Linked DNA regions of Homo sapiens: region 1 is linked to region 2. The links are contacts of gene promoters, found by promoter capture Hi-C in blood cells and fetal thymus (Javierre and others, 2016). All regions are on one chromosome and are shown on one strand. Each heading gives the region's core, a stretch centred on a gene start or on the middle of the fragment in contact. The rest is flanking DNA. Distances are from core to core; before and after follow the strand shown. Region 1 holds the start of TINF2 (TERF1 interacting nuclear factor 2). Region 2 overlaps CHD8 (chromodomain helicase DNA binding protein 8).

Region 1 (3,860 bases), core at 1,361-3,860, 2.9 Mb before region 2:
GCCAAAGAACATGGTGCGCTTGAAGAAATGTCAACAGAAATTTCCAAAGCTGAAATGCAATGAGAAAAAAAAATGAAAAAGAACAGAATATCCAAGAATTGTAGGACAATTATAGAAGCTGTAGCATACACATAATCAGAATGGCAGAGAAGAAAATAAAGGAACATAAGAAATGTGGCAATAATGACTGAGAATTTCCCCCAAATTAATGACAGACACAAAACACAGATCCAGGAAGCTCAGAGAGCAGCAAGCAGGATAAATACAAAAAACAAAAAATGAAGATAGACTGGGCTGGGCAACACAGAGAGACACCCCTTCTCTACAAAACATATTTTTCTTTTTTTTTTTTTTTGTAGAGTCAGGGTCTCACTGTATTGCCCAGGCTGGTCTCAAACTCCTGGCCTCAAGTGATCCTCCCACTTCAGCCTCCCAAAGTTCTGGGATTACAGGCATGAGCCACCACACCCACCAAAAAAGATTTTTTAAAAAATTAGCCAGGGACTGCGTGCAGTGGCTCACGCCTGCGATCCCAACACTTTCGGAAGCCGAGGTGGGAAGATCGCTTGAGTCCAGGAATTCGAGACCAGCCTGGGCAACAAAGACTTGTCTCTACAAAAAATAGAAAAAAATGAGCCAGGCATGGTGGTGCATGCCTGTAGCCCCAGTTACTTTGGAGGCTGAGGCAGGAGGATCACTTAAGCCCAGGAGGCAGAGGTTGCAGTGAGCCAAGATCACTGCACTCCACCCTGAGCAACAGAGCGAGACTGTCTCCCCACCTCAAAAAAAAAAAAAGAGCCGAGCGCGGTGGCTCACGCCTTGTAATCCCAGCACTTTGGGAGGCCGAGGCGAGCGGATCACGAGGTCAGGAGATCCAGACCACGGTGAAACCCCGTCTCTACTAAAAATACAAAAAAGCCGGGCGCGGTGGTGGGCGCCTGTAGTCCCAGCTACTCGGGAGGCTGAGGCAGGAGAATGGCGTGAACCCAGGAGGCGGAGCTTGCAGTGAGCTGAGATCGCGCCACTGCACTTCAGCCTGGGCGACAGAGCGAGACTCCGTCTCAAAAAAAAAAAAAAGTAAAACAACAGAAGTTCATATCTACATAAGAAAGAAAGAACATTAGAGAAGGAATAAATAAAGGGAAAAAGGAAGATAACTAGAATTTCACACATATCCAATTTGGGGTACTTTGGGACTGGGTGTTTCTTGGGCAGTCGAATGTGCGGATCAGCTGAGACTGATCCGGGGCGGAGACAAGGATGTGTGAACCATTATCTCTGGGAATGGAAGACATGGGCTAAAGACGGAGCAGTTTCACTAAATCCTTGTAAGGTGGTCAAGGCAGGCAACTAATCCAGCCAACAATTAAGGAGTGTAAGCTGTGTGTTAGGTTCTGTGCTTGCTGATGGAAATGAGAGGCACCAGGAAGCCTGTGGAAGAGACAGTCAAGGAGAGCAGTCAATTACATTAGGGGGCTGACAAGTTCAGTGCACAACAGAATCCTAAAACAAGAAACTAATTTGTGTGTGTGTGTGAGACCCCGTCTCACTCTATCACTCAGGCTGGAGTGCAGTCACTGAAGCCTCAACCTCCCTGGCTCAAACAATCCTCCCAACTCAGCCTCCTGAGTAGCTGGGACTACAGGCGTGCCACTACGCCCGGCTAGTTTTTTTGATTTTCAGTAGAGACAGGTTATCGCCATGTGATCCAGTCTGGTCTGGAACTCCTGGGCTCAAGCGGATCGATCCTCCCCTCTCGGCCTCTCAGAGTGCTGGGATTACAGGTGTGAGTCACCGTGCCCCCAGCCTGTATTCTATTTCTTCTTCTTCCTCTTTTTTTTTTTTTTTTTTTCTTTGAGAGAGATTCTCCCTCTGTCGCCCAGGCTGGAATGCAGAGGCAAGATCGCGGCTCACTGCCACCTCCCGTCTACTGGGTTCAAGCGATTCTCCTGCCTCGGCCTCCCGAGTAGCTGGGATTACAGGCGCCTGCCACCACGCCCAGCTAATTTTTGTACTTTTAGCAGAGAAGGGGTTTCACCATGTCGCCCAGGCTTGTCTGGAGCTCCTGGGCTCAAGTGACCCTCCTGCCTCGGCCTCTCAAAGCGCTGGGATTAGACACAAGCCACCACGCCCAGCCTGTATTTTATTTTTTAAGGGCGGGCGCCCTCTTCTGTTTTATAAAAGGAACAGTCGAATTCCTACTGGAAGCGACGCGCGCAGAGGGGAAGGCTTTGTAGACGCCGGCTCGGGTCTGGAATTTAAAGAACTAAATTTCGATGGGTGAAGACAGTGGGAAAGGGCGGTGGCATGATCCTCGTTTTACAGACTAGGAAGTCGAGCCTCACGGGAGTGACGGGGCTTCTCCGCAGGCTCCGCGAAGAAAGCAAGGCTGGGAGGACCCAGACGAACGGCCACAACAGCCTCAGCGGCCACGACAGCCTCAGCCGCCAACTCATGTCAGCCGGCAGAGAGTGCAGGAAGCGGGCAGCTACAGCTCCGCTGGGGCGTGGCCTTCTGACGCACCGTCACGGTTCCCTCTGTGGCCGCCCATTGGCTCCCTCTTACCGCCCTTTTCCGGGGCAAGGGAAGCTAGTAGCGGAGCCGGAAGTGAGGCACCCTCGGGCTCGAGACAGCGGCGACGTTTAAAGCTGAGCGACCCAGTGCCACTGGAGACGGTCAGCTTCTCCACTCAGGCTCCTCCAGCCCGAGCCAGAAGACCCCCTCCCCCAGAATTCTGGGGGCCGATGGAAGGGAGCCGAGTCAGATCGCGAGGTACCCAGAGCCGACAGACCGGAGCGACAGGGAGTTGCCAGAAGCCCCGCCCCTAGGAGTGATCGGAAAGCCTCACCCATCCGGGTGAGGAACCCGGAGGGACCGCCTCCGGGCGGAGCCCGCCGACCATGGCTACGCCCCTGGTGGCGGGTCCCGCAGCTCTACGCTTCGCCGCCGCGGCTAGCTGGCAGGTTGTGCGCGGACGCTGCGTGGAACATTTTCCGCGAGTACTGGAGTTTCTGCGATCTCTGCGCGCTGTTGCCCCTGGCTTGGTTCGCTACCGGCACCACGAACGCCTTTGTATGGGCCTAAAGGCCAAGGTATTGGAGCAAGTAGGACCTGGAAGGGGAAAGAAAGAAAGGGGCGGGATGCGAGCACCTGACAAGGGCCCACAGCTTGGGGATGAGACTAGTTGGAAAAGGTCAGCTTGCCCCGAAGTGGGGATTCTGAATTCAGTACCGTACAGGTGGTGGTGGAGCTGATCCTGCAGGGCCGGCCTTGGGCCCAAGTCCTGAAAGCCCTGAATCACCACTTTCCAGAATCTGGACCTATAGTGCGGGATCCCAAGGCTGTGAGTAATCCCCGGAACAAGCCCTGACCCCAGTTACACTTGGTGCAGCAAAGTTGCTCCTCCTGTCTACTGGATGTTGGTGCTAACTTCTCTGTCTTCTGTATCCTCAACAGACAAAGCAGGATCTGAGGAAGATTTTGGAGGCACAGGAAACTTTTTACCAGCAGGTGAAGCAGCTGTCAGAGGCTCCTGTGGATTTGGCCTCGAAGCTGCAGGTGAGACTGGTTTGAAGGCTATTATGTGGCTATTTTCTCTAACCCATTTTTTTTTTTTTTTGAGGAATCTTGCTCTGTCGCCCAGGCTGGAGTGCAGTGGCACAATCTCGGCTCACTGCAACCTCTGCCTCCCGGGTTCAAGCGATTCTCCTGCCTCAGCCTCCCGAGTAGCTGGGATTACAAATGCCCAGCTAATTTTTGTATTTTAGTAGAGATGGGGTTTCACCATGTTGGCCAGGCTGGTCTCGAACTCCTGACCTCAAGTGATCCGCCCACCTCGGCCTCCCAAATGGCCAGGATTA
Region 2 (3,478 bases), core at 400-2,899:
CTTCTGAAGTACTGGGATTACAGGCTTCAGCCACCGCACTCGGCCTTAAGTTTTCTAATTCTATATATTTTAGAAGTGTTTGGAGAGGTCTTCTAAGGAAAATAGTCATGAGATTTCCCAATATATAAAGGTTGAGAATCACTAATAATATGTCAGTAATGGAAAAAGCAGAGGAAACTGTTTTGTAATTCATAATAAATTTGTCCATTAAGTTATTCTATATTTTCAAATTTACTTATACTTTTATGATGGATAATAGGCCATTTGGTGGACTAAGTACCCACAGTTTATTCTTTCCACCAAATTTCAACTGCAAAAGTTTCTCTTGGCTATGCTTACCTTACTTTCTGCAATAGTTGTATTTGTTTTTTAATCTTTTATTTTTTTGAGACAGAGTCTTGCCCTGTCACCCAGGCTGGAGGGCAGTGCCACAATCTCAGCTCACGGCAAGCTCTGCATCCCCGGTTCAAGTGATTCTCTTGCCTCAGCCTCCCAAGTAGCTGGGACCACTGGCGCATGCTACCATACCCAGCTAATTTTTGTATTTTTAATAGAAAGAAGGTTTTGCCATGTTGGCCAGACTGTTCTCAAACTCCCGACCTCAGGTGATCCACCTGCCTAAGCCTCCCGAAGTACTGGGATTACAGGCATGAGCCACTGTGCCTGGCCAATAGTTGTAATTTTTTTTTTTTTTTCCTGAGACGGAGTCTTGCTCTGTTGCCCAGGCTGGAGTGCAATGGACTGATCTCAGCTCACTGCAACCTTTACCTCCCAAGTTCAAGTGATTCTCCTGCCTCAGCCTCCCGAGTAGCTGGGATTACAGGTGTGTGCAACCATGCCCAGCTAATTTCTGTATTTTTAGTAGAGACGGGGTTTCACCATGTTGGTCAGGCTGGTCTCGAACTACTGACCTTGTGATCCACCCGCCTCAGCCTCCCAAAGTGTTGGGATTACAGGCGTGAGCCACAGCGCCTGGTCAATAGTTGTATTTTTAAAGCATACATAAATCATTGTTTTAAATGACATAGAGTCATTTAAAATGGATTAGCACTTGTATATACTTGCCTTATCTAATTATTCCCCCATTTGATCTTCTATAGAAATCTTTATACACATACAGTCATCCCTTGGTATCTGTGAGGGATTGGTTCCAGGACCCCTGCAGATACCAAAATCCATGGATGCTCGAGTCCTTTATATATAAAATGGTGTAGAGCCAGGTGCGGTGGCTCTTACCTGTAATCCCAGCACTTTGGGAGGCTGAGGCAAGAGGATCACTTGTGCCCAGGAGTTCAAGACCAGCCTGGGGACCCCAGTGGGACCTTATCTCTACAAAAAATTAGCTGGGCGTGGTAGTGCAGTCCTCTAGTATCAGCTATGTGGAAGCTGAGGCAGGAGGATCACTTGAGCCCAGAGGCTGAGACTACAGTGACCCATGATCATGCCACTGCACTCCAGCCTGGGCAATAGAGTGTGAGACCCTGCCTCAAAAAATAAATAAATAAATAAATAAAATCATGTAGTATTTCCATGTAACCGACACACTTCCTCTGATACACTTTAATCTCTTGATTACTTATAATACCTAACACAATATAAATACTATGTAAATAGTTGTTACACGGTATTGTTTTAAAATCTGTAGTATTTTCTCTTGTTATTTTTTAGTTTCTTGTTGTTTTCAAATATTTTCAATCCACAGATGGTTGAATCCATGGATATGGAAGGCTGACTATGTGCATACACATATATTTATGTGTCTATATAACCACATGGAATATCTTTTAACAAAATTAATTTTAAAGTAAACTATCAATATTTTGCATTTAACAAGTTTGAAACATAAAATATATGTAGATTTATGAGGCTTATTTTTATATTAATGGAAGTGTTACCATGGGAGAATGTTTCAGTTTTCCCTGTTAGCCTCGATGAGAACAAGAGTGCAATAAACAGAATGGTTGATATGGGAAAGGCTGGTGGCTAGAAGGCTAATGCCATCTCTGTCTTTAATTTAACATTATAGAGCAGCCTGTAAGAAGGGCTTTTCCTTCACTGTTACCTATTTTTACCTCAAGTACTTCTGCTACTCCCTTATAGTCAACTGAAACTCTTAAGAAATATCATAGAAAATCACAGAAAATCCTAATATGACTAGTACAGAATTCTTTTTTTTTTTTTTTTTTTTGCTTGAGACAGAGTCTCGTTCTGTAACCCAGGCTGGAGTGCAGTGGCATGATCTCAGCTCACTGCAACCTCCGCCTCCTGGGTTCAAGTGATTCTCCTGCCTCAGCCTCCTGAGTAACTGGGATTGCAGCCATGCACGACCACACCCAGCTTTTTTTTTTTTTTTTTTTTTGATACAGAGTTTCACTCTTGTTGTCCAGGCTGGATGGAGTACAATGCCGTGATCTCTGCTCACCGCGATCTCCGCCTCCTGGGTTCAAGCGATTTTTCTGCCTCAGCCTCCCCAGTAGCTGGGATTACAGGCATGCGGCACCACGCCCAGCTAATTTGTTGTACTTTTAGTAGAGATGGGGTTTCTCCATGTTGGTCAGGCTGGTCTCGAACTCCCAACCTCAGGTGATCCGCCTGCCCTCAGCCTCCCAAAGTGCTGGGATTACAGGCGTGAGCCACCACGCCTGGCTGACTCCCGGCTAATTTTGGTATTTTTAGTAGGGACAGAGTTTCGCTATGTTGGCCAGGGTGGTCTTGAACTCCTAACCTCAAGTGATCCACCTGCCTCAGCCTCCCAAAGTGCTGGGATTACAGGCATGAGCCACCACGCCTGGCCCAGAATTCTTAATATAGAATTGACAGTGAATCTAGCACTACGTTATTCTTGGGACCTGCAGGAATAACTTCTATCTTCAATGAACTTAATCAGAATTTTTAGTCAGAACATCTAGAAGAAGCCATTTAAAATTCAGATATGTAAGTTTTTTATCAATGTGGAACAAAAATTATTTTATTAAATTTAGTGAGGAGTTTCTGACAGTTTTTTGGTGTTCTAGACATGTAGAAATCTTTATCTGATCTGTCTTGAATTTACCCTGCTTTGATGTGCTAATAGAGGATATTATTGTAAATGTCAATTCACATAGTAAGAACAAGTGAACAACTTGCCATCAGGAGACACGAGTGATTTTTTTTTTTTTTTTGAGACGGAGTCTCGCTGTCGCTCAGGCTGGAGTGCAGTGGCGCGATCTCGGCTCACTGCAAGCTCTGCCTCCCGGGTTCACACCATTCTCCTGCCTCAGCCTCCCGAGTAGCTGTGGGACTACAGGCGCCCGCCACCTTGCCCAGCTAATTTTTTGCATTTTTAGTAGAGACCGGGTTTCACCGTGTTAGCCAGGATGGTCTCGATCTCCTGACCTTGTGATTCCCCCGCCTCGGCCTCCCAAAGTGCTGGGATTACAGGCGTGAGCCACCGCGCCCGGTCACAAGTGATTTTTTTTATGTGCATTTACTAATTCAT

The links. Contacts are between HindIII fragments. The CHiCAGO score rates a contact against its expected background, and 5 or more counts as called.
Region 1: a contact is called between the fragment with the promoter of TINF2 here and a fragment that was not itself captured in region 2, in 1 of 17 cell types (naive CD8 T cells). The highest score is 5.9, in naive CD8 T cells.

The regions. Positions count from the first base shown.
Region 1 is chr14:24,241,373-24,245,232 of GRCh38, reverse strand. TINF2 (TERF1 interacting nuclear factor 2) reads left to right here and starts at 2,610. Exons shown (of 9, transcript NM_001099274.3): 1 at 2,610-3,092; 2 at 3,239-3,343; 3 at 3,457-3,558. The coding sequence starts at 2,901. RefSeq lists a silencer at 1,676-1,970 and enhancers at 2,162-2,461, 2,632-2,891, 2,962-3,181, 3,842-3,860. The HindIII fragment of the contact is 13,864 bases long and covers 1-3,860 here.
Region 2 is chr14:21,386,520-21,389,997 of GRCh38, reverse strand. The region is part of intron 37 of CHD8 (chromodomain helicase DNA binding protein 8); the gene reads left to right. All of the region lies in intron 1 of LOC107984643 (a long non-coding RNA gene), which reads right to left. Among named protein-coding and RNA genes, the nearest start is that of SNORD9, 4.0 kb to the left of the region's middle. The HindIII fragment of the contact is 7,320 bases long and covers 1-3,478 here.